Regions from separate parts of the Homo sapiens genome. Here all the other regions are linked to region 3. Evidence: promoter capture Hi-C in human tissues and cell types (Jung and others, 2019). All regions are on one chromosome and are shown on one strand. The core of a region is centred on a gene start or on the middle of the fragment in contact, and the rest is flanking DNA. Distances in the headings are between cores, read along the strand shown. Region 1 overlaps NPHS1 (NPHS1 adhesion molecule, nephrin). Region 2 holds the start of LOC107985304 (a long non-coding RNA gene). Region 3 holds the start of CLIP3 (CAP-Gly domain containing linker protein 3). Region 4 holds the start of PRODH2 (proline dehydrogenase 2).

Region 1 (3,600 bases), core at 590-3,089, 200 kb after region 3:
CAGGCTGGAGTACAGTGGCATGATCTCGGCTCACTGCAACCTCTGCCTCCCAGGTTCAAGCAATTCTCCTGCCTTAGCCTTCCAAGTAGCTGGGATTACAGGTGCATACCACCACGCCTGGCTAATTTTTGTATTTTTTAGTAGAGACAGGGTTTCACCATGTTGGCCAGGCTGGTCTCAAAGTCCTAACCTCAGGTGATCCACCTGCCTCAGTCTCTCAAAGTGCTGGGATTACAGACGTGTGCCACCACTCCTGGCCGCAAGCTTCTCCTTTCTGTTTTCCTCTTCCTGACAGAGCAGGCTTTTTCTCAATGGAAGTAAGGACACTTTTTCACCCCTACAATCTTCTCTGCTCTTCCCCCCACCCCACTCCAGTCTTCCCTTTGAACACTAAAACATAAAGTATGACACTTGCCTCCTTTGCTTTAGAACTTGTACCTTTATTAAGGGATCGAGAGCCCAAAGTCTTTTTTGGTTAACTCAACAAATTGATAATTCGGGTGAAAAGGACCTTGCACACCGAAAGTGCTCATCAACAGTTAATTTTTGGGCCAGGCATGGTGATGCATGCCTGTAGTCCCAGCTAATCAGGAGTCTGAGGCGGGAGGATAGCTTGAACCCAGGAGGTCGAGGCTGCAGTGAGCTATGATCATACCACTGCACTCCAGCCTGAGCGACAGAGTGAGACCCTGTCTCTTTAAAAAAAAAAAAATGGCCAGGCGCAGTGGCTCACGCCTGTAATCCCAGCACTCTGGAAGGCCGAGGTGGGCGAATCACGAGGTCAGGAGTTCGAGACTAGCCTGGCCAACATGGTGAAACCCCATCTCTACTAAAAATACAAAAAATTAGCCAGGCATAGTGGCAGGTGCCTGTAGTCCCAGCTACTTGGGAGGCTGAGGCAGGAGAATTGCTTGAACCCGGGAGGCAGAGGTTTCAGTGAGCTGAGATTGCGCCACTGCACTCCAGCCTGGGCAATAGAGAGAGGTTCAGTCTCAAAAAACAAATTATTCTTAGCATTAGCGTTACCATTAGAATTGCTATTAATAGTATTGTCATTATTATCAGCAATTTCTAGCTCTCTTTGAAATATTCTTAAGCAGTCATATACCAGTTCCCATGAATCTAATAGGCTTAAGAAGAGGCTGAGAAATATTTAAAGCTTATCTCAGATTCTTAGTGTTAAGTCACAATCTGTATATCCACCCCCCAGGTCTCCACCAGCCTTCTGGAGAACCTGAAGACCAGCTGCCCACAGAGCCACCTTCAGGCAAGTCCTCAGTCCCCTGATCCCTCCCGGCTCCCCTGAGAATGGAACCTCCTGGTCTCTGACCCTACCTCCTCTGCTTGTAGTCACAGCTGCTTAACGACTTAGTTCTGGCCAAGCTCAGTCGCTCACGCCTGTAATCCCAACACTTTGGGAGGCCAAGGCATGTGATCACTTGAGCCCAGGAGTTTGAGACCAGCTTGGGCAACATAGCAAGACTCCATCTTTGCAAAAATAAAAAATAGCTGGGTGTAGTGGCATGTGCCTGTAGTCCCAACTACTCAGAAGGCTGAGGTGGGAGGATTGCATAAGCCCAGGAGTTGGAGGATGCAGTGAGCTATGACTGAGCCACTGCACTCCAGCCTTGGCAACAGAGGGAGACCCTATCTCAAAAAAAAAAAAAAAAAAAAAAAAGACTTAGTTCTGTCCCTGCAGAATTGCAGACTTGCAGACTCCTTAGAGCTTCCTCTTTTTTCTTTCTTTCTTTCTTTTTTTTTTTTTTTTTTTTGAGACAGAGTCTCATTCTGTTGCCCAGGCTGGAGTGAAGTGGCAAAATCTTGGCTCACTGCAACCTCCACCTCCCAGGTTCAAGCGATTCTTTTGCCTTAGCCTCCCGAGTTGCTGGGATTACAGGCACCTGCCACCACACCTGGCTAATTGTTGTACTTTTTTAGTAGGGACGGGGTTTCACCATGTTGGCCAGGCTGGTCTCGAACTCCCGACCTCAAGTGATCTGCCTGCCTCAGCTTCCCAAAGTGCTGGGATAACAGGCATGAGCTACGGCACTCGGCATTTTTTTTTTTTATTTTTTTATTTTTTGAGATGGATTCTTGCTCTGTTTGTTGCCCAGGCTGGAGTGCAGTGGTGCGATCTCGGCTGACTGCTATCTCCACCTCCCGGCTTCCTCTCCTGCCTCAGCCTCCCGAGTAGCTGGGACTACAGGCACGTGCCAACACGCCCAGCTAATTTTTTGTATTTTTAGTAGAGATGAGGTTTCACCGCGTTAGCCAGGATGGTCTTTAACTCCTGACCTCATGATTCACCCACCTCAGCCTCCCAAAGTGCTGGGATTACAGGCGTGAGCCACTGCATCTGGCCAATTTTTTTTTTCTTAGATCTTCCTCTTGCCTGGAGTGATAAATTTTCTTCTCTTCCAAATTTAGTTTAATTCCGTAAGAATTAGCTCACTCCATGTCCTGTAAGAAGCCTGCATCAGTTAGCTTTTGCTGTATAATGAACCACCCCAAACATGGGTGCTTATAGCAACATTCTTCCTCATGATTCTGAGTCTGGCGGAACAGTGCTGGTCTGGGCTGGCTTAAATCATCTCTGCAGTCAGCTGGCAGCTCCACTGGACTGGGTGGTCTAGGGTTGCCCCCTTCCCACACTTCTGATAGTCATCTGGCTCTTGGTTGGAACAATGGAGATAACTGGGCGCGTGTCTCTTCTTGACTTTTTCACATGGAGGTGGTCACGGGGGTCAAAAGCAGCAATTTACTAGCTGATTCCGTCATAGTTGTGTCTCATTGGCCAAAGCAAGTCACATGGCTCAACACAGAGTCAGTGTGGAAAGGCCCCGCACTCAAGGATGTGACTACTGGGAGATGATTGCAACCATTTGGCAAAAAAATCCCCTTCAGAGCCCGAGAAAAAGGTTGCAAGTGACAGAAATGCAGCTGTTTTGTCAACACGAAAAAGAATGGCTTGGCTGGGCACAGTGGCTCATGCCTATAATCCCGGAACTTTGGGAGGCTGAGGCAGGTAGATCACTTGAGCCCAGACGTTGGAGACAAACCTGGGCAACATGGTGAAACCCCATCTCTATAAAACAAAAACAAAAAAAATTAGCCAGGCATGGCAGTGCATGCCTGCAGTCCCAGCTACTCAGGAGGCTGATGCGGGAGGATTGATTGAGCCCAGGAGGTTGAGCCTTCAATGAGCCGAGCTCACGCCACTGCACTGCAGCCTGGGCAACAGAGTTGAGACCCTGTCTCAAGAAAAAAAAGAAAAAGTCTTGGTATATGAAATAAAAAATTCCAAGTGTGGCCACTTTCAGGTGCTCAAAAATCTCACCAGCGATCTGTTTCTCACCCTCTCTCAACTTTGCCTTCATCTGTGGTGGCTTCTTTCTGAGTTTCTTCAATCAGAGGGGCAGAGAAGCCCTCCTCCACCTCCATCTTCTTGACAGCTAGTAGAATTGTCCTAAATGTTTTGTTAAAAACACACGTTGGGTCAAATGCCTGTGTCTAAACAATCACTGTGGAGAGAGGAATGGAGACTCTTATTTTCCAGGCCGGGCCATGTGCCCACTGTGGAGTCCTGCCTGAACCCAAGAC
Region 2 (3,605 bases), core at 144-2,643, 200 kb before region 3:
GCTTCTCAATGAGATTGTCATCTAGCTAAGGGCTTGTCAATACTCCTTAGAAGCACAGGGTTTCTCTTCAGCATGACTTGCACGTTCGACGAAATGCAACATATGAGTAACAGTTCCCCCACATTCAGTAAATTCATAGGGTTTCTCTCCAGTATGAACACTCTGGTAACAGATGAGGTACAAACGTTTTAAACCAAAGACATTTACACTTAAAGGGGGTTAATACCATAAGGAGTAAGCTGTGGTAGAGAAGCTCCCAACTAAGTCCCTTGATGATTCTTTCCTACACAACCTCCCTCATGATTTCAGTCCAGGTTGTGTTTCAAACTGAAAACTTCAAAAAGGTGTGGCCTTAAAACAAATACGATCTGAGAACAGAGGAAGTATTTTTTCTTATATTCAACGCTCTTTTTCTCAGTCTTTCCTGGAGATGGATCAACATGCCTCCCAAGTCCTGGTGCCTCTCAAGTCCTGGTGCCTCTCTATCTGTGCATCATCTTCTCAGGCTTCTTCTAAAATGGAGTACAAAGAACCATAGCACAAAGGAGTTAAATTCATAAAGTGCCCAGAACCATGGCTGCCATATGGTAAGCCCTTCATTTTACCTTTATATTACTATCACTTTTATTTGTTAATTTTCCCATTACTAGCAATAAAATTTTTTGAGATTAACTCTGGTAGCCCATCTCCCAATATGAAAATAATCTATATTATTAATGCTTCCAACTAAATTATGAGAAGGGAACCCTACTTGAGGTGATCTAGGTAGAAAATTAACATTCATGGGTCCACAAAGCTGAAAGTACTCTTGAAAAATAACCTTTCCATTTCAGAATTTAGCAAGTTGTATAACAAATAATGAAGAATTGCCAAATAGAAGAAAAAGATGAAAATTAGAAAGTCTACCTGGGATGCTAAGGAAGAAAAATAATGTTCATCTTTCTTTCTTCTTTTTTTTTTTTTGAGACGGAATTTCGCTCGTTATCCAGGCTGGAGTGCAGTGGTGCGATCTCGGCTCACTGCAGCCTCCGCCTCCTGGGTTCAAGCAATTCTCTAGCCTCAGCCTCCTGAGTAACTGGGATTACAGGTGTGCACCACCATACCTGGCTAAATAATGCTCATCTTTCTAAGAAAAGGAATAGATCAACCAACAAGTGCTTCCTCCCAAAACCCCATTAAAATTATAAGGAGAAAATGGTACAAATTCCCTTATTCAAAAGGAATAAAGGATGGTGGCTGAAAAAAAAGTGTAAGGAACAGTTGAACATGCACTGTCCAGTCACGAGAACAAAGGACTGGACACACCTTCATATGAAATGGAAGTTTATCCCCTGCAGAATTTTAATCAGAGCTCAGGGGCATTCAGCAAATGAGATGACAGGAATGAGCTGCTATACGGAAATCAGAGATTAAACCCACATATATGGTAAGACCTGCAGCACCATTCTGCAGCTGAAGACAAAAGATGCTGGCTGGCCGGGCGCAGTGGCTCACGCCTGTAATCCCAGCACGTTGGGAGGCCGAGGTGGGCGGATCACGAGGTCAGGAGATCAAGACCATCCTGGCTAACACAGTGAAACCCCATCTCTACTAAAAATACAAAAAATTAGCCGGGCGTGGTGGCGAGCAACCAGATGCAAAGCTTGAACCCTGATTACATTCTGTAATTTTAAAAAACTATGGAAGGCATTCTGGGGACAATTGGAAAAATGTGAACATAGACTGGGTAGTCTAATATTAGGACAACATGGTTAATCTTCTAAGGTGTGAAACGGTATTTTGTTATATGGGAGAGCTCCCTTTTTTTTTGAGACAGTCTTGCTCTGTCGCCCAGGCTGTGTGGGGAAAAGAAAGAGAGATCAGACTGTTACTGTGTCTGTGTAGAAAGAAGTAGACATAAGAGACTCCATTTTGTTCTGTACTAAGAAAAATTATTCTGCCTTGAGATGCTGTTAATCTGTAACCCTACCCCCAACCCTGTGCTCACTGAAACATGTGCTGTGTCAACTCAGCGTTAAATGGATTAAGGGCTGTGCAGGATGTGCTTTGTTAAACAAATGCTTGAAGGCAGCATGCTCCTTAAGAGTCATCACCACTCCCTAATCTCAAGTACCCAGAGACACAACACACTACAGAAGGCCGCAGGGACCTCTGCCTAGGAAAGCCAGGTATTGTCCAAGGTTTCTCCCCATGTGATAGTCTGAAATATGGCCCCGCGGGAAGGGAAAGACCTGACCGTCCCCCAGTCCGACACCCGTAAAGGGTCTGTGCTGAGGAGGATTAGTAAAAAAGGAAGACCTCTTTGCAGTTGAGATAAGAGGAAGGCATCTGTCTCCTGCTCTTCCCTGGGCAATGGAATGTCTCCGTGTAAAGCTGGATTGTATATTCCATCTACTGAGATAGGGGAAAACCGCCTTAGGGCTGGAGGTGGGACATGCTGGCAGCAACACTGCTCTTTAAGGCATTGAGATGTTTATGTATATGCACATCAAAAGCACAGCACTTTTTTCTTTACCTTGTTTATGATGCAGAGACATTTGTTCACGTTTTCCTGCTGACCTTCTCTCCACTATTACCCTATTGTCCTGCCACATCCCCCTCTCCGAGAAACGCCCGATAATGATCAATAAATACTAAGGGAACTCAAGAGGCCGGTCCTCTTGAGAGGTCCTCCGTATGCAGGTCCTCCCTAACGCCGGTCCCCTGGGCCCATTTTTCTTTCTCTATACTTTGTTTCTGTGTCTCTTTCTTTTCCAAGTCAGTCCTTCCACCTGACGAGAAACGCCCACAGCTGTGGAGGGGAAACCCACCCCTTCAGGCTGGTGTGCAGTGGTGCGATCTCGACTCACTGCAACCTCGGCCTCCTGGCTTCAAGTGATTCTTGAAGCCTCAACCTCCCAAGTAGCTGGGATTACAGGCATGCATCACCACGCCTAATTTTTGTATTTTTAGTAGAGACAGGATTTCACTATGTTGGCCAGGCTGGTCTGGAACTCCTGACATCTGGTGATCTGCCCGTATCTGCCTCCCAAGTGCTGGCACTACAGGCGTGAGCCACCACGCCTGGCCAGGAGCTGCTTTTCTTGGTAGAAAATACATATTTAATTTTTTAGAAGTAAAACATCATGATGCCTCAGCACACAAAATAAACACATGGATACGGACATACAAAAGCGTGGCAAAATATTAATTATTCAATCCACATGGGGGGTACATAAGAGATTCTTTAACTATTCCTTCAGCATTTGTTATATTTAAAAAATGTTCATATGAAAAAATAATTGAATGGCTGGGCATGGTGACTCACACCTGTAATCCCAGCACTGTGGGGCCAAGAGTTTAAGACAAGCCTGGCCAACATGGTGAAACCTCGTCTCTACTAAAAATACAAAAAATTAGCTGGATGTGGTGGCATGCTCCTATAATCCCAGCTACTCAAGAGGCTGAGACAGGAGAATCACTTGAAACCGGGAGGTGGAGGTTGTAGTGAGCCCAGATCGCACCACTGCACTCCAGCCTGGGTGACAGAGGGAGACTATGTCTCGGGAAAAAAAAAAAAAAGAAAAAAGAAAAAAGAACTGATCAGTATTTCCACACAAAAAATT
Region 3 (3,627 bases), core at 431-2,930:
TTTGAGACCAGCCTGGCCAACATGGCGAAACCCCGTCCCTACTAAAAATACAAAAATTAGCTGGGTGTGGTGGCACAGGCCTGTAATCCCAGCTACTCGGGAGGCTGAGGCAGGAGAATCACTTGAACCTGGAAGACAGAGGTTGCAGTGAGCAGAGATCATGCCACTCCACTCCAGCCTGGGGAACAGTGAGACTGCCATCTCAAAAAAAAAAAAAAAAAAGAGCCAGTGCAAAGGTCCTGGGGTAGGGAGAAGCAAGGAGGCCAGTGTGGCTGGGGTGGAGTGAACAAAAGAGGGTGAGAGGAGGTGAGTGCAGAGATGATGGGGCAGGTTCACATAGGCCCTTGTGGGCCATGGCTGAGAGCCTTGGCTTCTACCTGGAGTGAGGTGCAGCAGGCAGACCCCTCTGAGGGAAAGAGGGCTCCAAAGTGACAGGTGTTCATGGGTCCCTGTGGCTGCATGTTGGAGGAGGACGGGGACAGCAGGTAAGAGGCTGCTGCCGTAGTGCTGGTGGCAGAAGAAGAAGGATGGACCAAGATGAGGGCCCAGGGTAGCGGTGGGGAGAGTGAGATCCTGGAAATCTTTTGGAGATGGAGCTACTGGACCTGTGCATTAGAAGGATGAGGTGTTCAAGGCTGTCACCCAGCCCCATCCAGGCTGGGATGATTTGAGGCAGAGCAGGCTACAGCTCCAGGTGGGAAGCCAAGCCATGACAATGGAGCCAGGACCCTGGGCTGGCTTCAGGAGGCCTCCGTGGGGAAGATACAGGTTCTGAGAGAGTTGGAGGGGTCAATCGGCAGATCTGTTTCCCAGACACTGCTACAGGCATGTAGCATGGTGATTAAGAATCAAAGCTGGGCATGGTGACTCGTGCCTGTAATCTCAGCGCTTTGGGTGGCAGGGGCAGGAGGATCCCTTGAGGTCAGGAGTTCAAGACCAGCCTGGGCAACATGGCAAAACCCTGTCTCAAAAAAAATTCTCCAGACATGGTGGCATGCACGTGTGGTCTCGGCTACTCGGGAGGTTGAGGTGGGAGGATGGCTTGAGCCCAGAAGTTTGACGCTGCAGTGAGCCAAGATCACAACACTGCACAGTAGCCTGGGTGACAGAGTGAGACCCTGTCTAGGAAATAATAAAAATAAAAATCAGACTTTACAGACTGTCTGGTTTCAAATGTTCGCTCCATCACCTACTCATGTACTTTTGGGCAAGCTGCTTAACCTCTGGGCCCCAGTGTGTGAGCCTCGCATTATGATGGTAAGGATGAGATGATCATGATAGGAGTCTCTAGGAAATCACCCCTCTGAGGCACCCATTATGAATGGTGAGCTTGGAGAAGGGGTCCGGTCTAGGGTCCTAGAGAGAGGGTCCCCTAGAGGGTCCCCATCGTCACCACGCCCCAAGACCACTGCCCTCACCGGCCTGGTTTGCAGGCGTGGGGGAAGGGGATGGAGAAGATCTGTGTCCGCTCTCTCAGCCCTCTCTTTTGCCGTTGTATCTGCTCATCTCGCTCCTTTCCGTAGCCATCTCTTCCTCTCCCAGTGCCCGGAGGCTCTCCCCTTTCAGTCGCCGCCTCTGGCCCCTCCATCAATGCGAGCGCCTCCCGGTCCCTCCTCCTGGTCCCTCCTCCCCCGCCGCCGGTAGGGGGGCAGCAGGCGCATGCGCAGTCGCGCCCCTCCCTCTCCGCCCCCACCCCCTGTCGGCGTCTGGGCCTCGTCCCCTTCTCTCTGTCTCCCTTGCCTCCCCCATCACGTCCCCTGACACCGACACCCCATTGCTCCCACAGTCTCCCCAGTCTCCACTTTGGTCCCCAGCGCTGTCTGCCCGAGGTAAGATGGGGAGGGGGCGGCCCGCGGAGAAGGGGAGGGGCGAAGCATCCTGAATCCCGAGATAAACAAACCCGGGGAGGGGGCAGCCGCGACTGAGGGGCCTGACGCGGGAGGAGAAGAATGGGGGGCTGGGCCTGGGGGAGGTGGCAGGCGCTGGGCGCACACACCGGGGCCCTCTATGGGTAACGGGGGTCCCTATGGTTGCCCAAGATCCAGTTGCGCGGAGGCCACCCGGGGCCCTGGAAGCTCCTAGGGGCTTGGACCCTGGAGCCTGCCGGGCACCCTCTCCAGCTGACCTCTGCCTCCAGGATTTGCCTGAAGGCTGCCCCCAACTCTGCACCCGCCCCCCGAGGGCCACCGAGGACCATGACTAAGACAGATCCTGCCCCGATGGCCCCGCCACCCCGAGGAGAGGAGGAAGAAGAGGAGGAGGAGGATGAACCCGTCCCCGAGGCCCCCAGCCCCACCCAGGAGCGCCGGCAGAAGCCTGTTGTGCACCCCTCGGCACCTGCCCCCCTCCCTAAGGACTACGGTAACCACTGTCCCCACCCTGGAATCTGGCCTGGAGCGTTGGGTGGCCGGGGAGGGTGGGCTGTGCTCTGCTGGTGGTGATGGTGGGAGAATTCTGGGGAATTTGAAGGTGGTCCAGAGGAATCTTGGCTGCAGAGCACCCCTCGTTAATTCATTCATTCACCCATTGGAGAATGGAATTGTAATACTCCTAGTCTTTGACTCATGACACATCATTCCATCATTTAGTCATTCAACAATCATTTTTTGAAAGCGGCTGTGGACCTGGCTTTATGCTAGGGGCTGGGGCCACAGCAGGGGGCAAGAGAGACCCAGTCTTTGCCCTGAGACAACTCACAGGCCTCAGTAACAGCCACACAAATAGGTATTAAACCATAATGTAATTTTTCACATTTAGGTTTATATGCAAGAAAGAAAAATATAATGTAATATAAATATGTAATTACAAGACATTATGAAAATTGTATTTACCATAAACAAGCTGCTGCAAGAGTTTTTTAAGACATTGTTTCCCTGAGGAGGTTACAGTTGAGAAGACTGGAGGGTGAGTTGGGGTTAACTAAGAGAAGGGTCAGGGGAAAGGGCTCCCAGGAGAGGTAACCGCTGGGTAAAGGATCTGAGGTAGGAGGGTATGGAGCTGAGAGGGCGGCCTCTTGGAGAAACTGAAAGTGTCTAATCATTGACCGAGCGATATTTATCGAGTGCTGCTACTCTGTGACAAGCCTTATGCTGGGTGCCGGAGATTTAATCCTAAGTGATCCAGGCATGATCCTCCCTTGCAGGAGAGAAGGAGAGACTAAACAAGTGAACAGATAAATAAATCAGAAATCAGATAAATTCAGATTGGAGCAAGTGCTATGAAAGAAAGAAAAGGTGGGCTGGGCATGGTGTCTCACGCCTGTAATCCCAGCACTTTGGGAGGCTGAGGCCAGCGGATCACCTGAGGTCAGGAGTTTGAGACCAGCCATGGCCAACATGGTGAAACCCCATCTCTACTAAAAATACAAAAATTGGCTGGGTATAGTGGCATATGTCTGTAATCCCAGCCACTCGGGAGGCTGAGGCAGTAGAATCGCTTGAACCTGGGAGGCAGAGGTTGCCCAAGATCGAGCCACTACACTCCAGCCTGAGTGACAGAGTAAGACTGTCTCAAAAAAAAAAAAAAAAAAGAAAAAAAAAAAAAAGAAAAGAAAAAAAGAAAAAAGAAAAAGAAATTAAAGGTGGAGATACGATAATGACTAGGGGGCAGCTACCTGCAGGGGTAGTC
Region 4 (3,206 bases), core at 403-2,902, 220 kb after region 3:
CTACAAAAATACAAAAATTAGCCAGGTGTGGTGGTGGGTGCCTGTAGTCCCAGCTACTCAGGGGGCTAAAGCAGAAGAATCACTTGAACCCGGGAGATGGGGGTTGCAGTGAGCCGAGATCGCACCACTGCACTCCAGCCTGGGTGACAGAGCAAGGATACGTCTAACAAAACAAAACAAAAAAATTAAGACATATGGTTTCCATTTTAAAAAAAGAAAATAGGATATAGAAGTCCCCATATCCCTCTACCCCATTACAATTCCTCCCATCCCCCACAATCAACCACCTCTCTGACTTCTGTGATAATCATGTCCTTACTTTTCTTGTCCTCATAGTTTGACCACCCACGCATGTATTCCCAACATTTTACTGCAGTTTCACTTTCCTTGCTTTTATATTTATTGAAAAGTATAGACCAGCCACAGTGGCTCATGCCTGTAATCCCAGCACTTTGGAAGGCTGAGGCGGGCAGATCACCTGAGGTCGGGAGTTCAAGACCAGTCTGACCAACATGGAGAAACCCTGTCTCTACTAAAAATACAAAATTAGTGGGGCGTGGTGGCACATGCCTGTAATCCCAGCTACTCTGGAAGCTGAGGCAAGAGAATCGCTTGAACCCGGGGGGTGAAGGTTGCAGTGAGCTGAGATTGTGCCATTGCACTCTAGCCTGGGCAACAAGAGTGAAACTGTGTCTCAAAAAAAAAAAAAAAAAAAAAAAAAAAAGAATAATACAGCTTGCCCTGTTTGGTGTCTGGCTTCTTTCACTTGACATTGTGAGATTCAGCCACACAGTTGTGTGTATCAGTATCCATTCTTTTTCATTACTGTATAGTATTCCATTGCATAACTACACCACCATATATGTATCCATTCTCCTTTTGATGGACATTTGGGTAGTTCAGACACTGCTCCTCTGAACATTCTTTCCTGTACATGTTTCCTGCTGTCCATGTTTAAGGTCTCTAGGATATGTACTTAGCATGGAACAGCTGGGTTATATAGGTTATTTGTCTTTTCTTTTTTCTTTTTTTGGCGACAGAGTCTCACTTTGTCACCCAGGGTGGAGTGCAGTGGCACAATCACAGCTCACTGCACCCTTGACCTCCCAGGCTCAAGAGATCCACCTTCCTCGGCCTCCTGAGTAGCTAGGACCACAGGTGTGTGCCACCACACACAGTTAATTTTTGTATTTTTTGTAGAGATGGGGTCTCACTATGTCGCCCAGGGTAGTCTCAAACTCCTCGGTCTTGGCCTCCCAAAGTGTTGGGATTACAAACGTGAGAACCGTATTTTCAAATGTATTCAATAACACTACAGCGTTTCCAATTTTAAGAGGAAGCAATTGCCACAAAAGTGATTAAGTAGCCTGTCCTGGATCACAAAGCCCGGTGTCCTGAGCCCAGGGATCCTTGCTCCGGAGCCCCTGCTTTCCCCAGCACATGGTGGTTACCTAATAAGTGCAGGCTGTTGTGCTGAGCATTCTTGGGGGCTGTTACTGGGGTTCACCTCCCGTTTCCGTTACTCTGAACTCTGTCCCCATTTGTTAATAATTAATTGCCCCCAAGGAGCCTGTGATCCTGAGGCTTTGCCCAGTTAATCAGTCACTGCCCCTGGTCTGGGCAAGGGGCAGTTGGTGAACTTGCTGCCTCCAGAGAACCTTCCCTGGTGTGGAGGCAGCCAGGGACCCAGGATGCTCCGGACCTGTTACGTGCTCTGTTCCCAAGCTGGTCCCCCCTCCAGGGGCTGGCAGTCCCTGAGCTTTGATGGCGGGGCCTTCCACCTTAAGGGCACAGGAGAGCTGACACGGGCCTTGCTGGTTCTCCGGCTGTGTGCCTGGCCCCCACTCGTCACTCACGGGCTGTTGGTGAGCAGTGATCCTGAGGACCAGCCTGGAGGCTCCTCATAGCCTGGCGCTGAGCCCTCGCTCCCTGTCACCCAGCTCCAGGCCTGGTCTCGGCGACTCCTGGGCTCCCGGCTCTCAGGCGCATTTCTCCGAGCATCCGTCTATGGGCAGTTTGTGGCTGGTGAGACAGCAGAGGAGGTGAAGGGCTGCGTGCAGCAGCTGCGGACCCTCAGCCTCCGACCACTGCTGGCAGTGCCCACTGAGGAGGAGCCGGACTCTGCTGCCAAGAGTGGGTGAGTAGGGAGCCAGGGCCCAGGGAGGCTGGGAGGACGCAGGAAGGGGCTTTGCTGTTCGGGCCCTGACACCTGCTGGCTGGGCAGTGAGGCGTGGTATGAGGGGAACCTCGGTGCTATGCTGCGGTGTGTGGACCTGTCACGGGGCCTCCTGGAGCCCCCCAGCCTGGCTGAGGCCAGCCTCATGCAGCTGAAGGTGACGGCGCTGACCAGTACTCGGCTCTGTGTAAGGAGTGCAAAGACGGGGGTGCGGGGAGGGCGCGGCTGCCCATCGGGCTCCCCTCACCACCCCGCCTACCACCCCATTTCAGAAGGAGCTAGCCTCGTGGGTCAGAAGGCCAGGAGCCTCCTTGGAGCTGAGCCCCGAGAGGCTGGCTGAAGCTATGGACTCTGGGCAGGTAAGGATCTCAAGCGGGACTGTCGGGGACAGAGTGCCTTGGACTTAGATGCGGCCACACCGCACGCCAGATGTTCAAAATGCTACGGCCACCTCCAGGCTTGGAACAGCCAGCAGAAGTGCAGCTGTAGCTCCCAGGCATGGTTGAAATGGATGGAATCAGGGTCATCTGGGTTCTCAGGGAGGAGCCTGGAGGCTGGAGGCTCTCAGAGGAGGGATTGGGATAGAAGCTGTTTATCAATTAGAAGGAGGTACATCAGTGTGTTCTCAGTCAACACAGCTGCATGGGTGTGAGCTGGCTGGGTGTAAGTTCTGATTAGGCCAATGGGGTCTTAGTTTGTTCATTCAATCATTAATTCCTTTTTATCTCCACATTCTCTTTCAACCCTACTCCATCTTTTTTTCTTTCTTTCTCTCTCTCTCCTTCCTTCCTCTTCCTCTTTTGCTCTCTCTCCTTCCTTCCTTCTTTTCTTTTTCCTTCTCTCCCCTCCCTCCCTCCCTCCCTTCCTTCCTTCCTTCCTTTATTCCTTCCTTCCTTCCTTCTCTCTCCTCCCTCCTCTCTCTCTCTCTCTCTCTTTCTCTTTGTCTTACTGTATTGCACAGGGTGGTCTCTAACTCATGGCCTCAAGCAATCCCCCAGCCTCAGCCCCCCAAAGTTCTGGGATTATAGGT

Evidence for each region. Contacts are between HindIII fragments. The study calls those that stand out against the background at their distance.
Region 1: a fragment that was not itself captured here is called in contact with the fragment with the promoter of CLIP3 in region 3 in 4 of the 25 tissues and cell types used here (H1 embryonic stem cells, IMR-90 fibroblasts, lymphoblastoid cells and 1 more).
Region 2: a contact is called between a fragment that was not itself captured here and the fragment with the promoter of CLIP3 in region 3, in 3 of the 25 tissues and cell types used here (dorsolateral prefrontal cortex, psoas muscle and stomach).
Region 4: the fragment with the promoter of PRODH2 here is called in contact with the fragment with the promoter of CLIP3 in region 3 in 1 of the 25 tissues and cell types used here (spleen).

Annotation. Positions count from the first base shown.
Region 1 is chr19:35,833,372-35,836,971 of GRCh38, reverse strand. It overlaps NPHS1 (NPHS1 adhesion molecule, nephrin), which reads left to right. Exons shown (of 29, transcript NM_004646.4): 23 at 1,211-1,267. Among named protein-coding and RNA genes, the nearest start is that of NPHS1, 17 kb to the left of the region's middle. The HindIII fragment of the contact is 3,619 bases long and covers 30-3,600 here.
Region 2 is chr19:36,232,566-36,236,170 of GRCh38, reverse strand. ZNF146 (zinc finger protein 146) reads right to left here. Exons shown (of 4, transcript NM_007145.3): 4 at 1-512. It overlaps LOC107985304 (a long non-coding RNA gene), which reads left to right and starts at 419. Exons shown (of 2, transcript XR_001753933.3): 1 at 419-587. It also overlaps a transcript of ZNF565 not described here. RefSeq lists enhancers at 1,595-2,096, 2,097-2,599. The HindIII fragment of the contact is 4,389 bases long and covers 1-3,587 here.
Region 3 is chr19:36,030,926-36,034,552 of GRCh38, reverse strand. It overlaps CLIP3 (CAP-Gly domain containing linker protein 3), which reads left to right and starts at 1,680. Exons shown (of 14, transcript NM_015526.3): 1 at 1,680-1,829; 2 at 2,138-2,361. The coding sequence starts at 2,196. The region is part of intron 3 of LOC101927572 (a long non-coding RNA gene); the gene reads right to left. The HindIII fragment of the contact is 12,641 bases long and covers 1-3,627 here.
Region 4 is chr19:35,811,291-35,814,496 of GRCh38, reverse strand. PRODH2 (proline dehydrogenase 2) reads left to right here and starts at 1,652. Exons shown (of 10, transcript NM_021232.2): 1 at 1,652-1,865; 2 at 1,941-2,137; 3 at 2,225-2,363; 4 at 2,449-2,535. The coding sequence starts at 1,692. The HindIII fragment of the contact is 15,660 bases long and covers 1-3,206 here.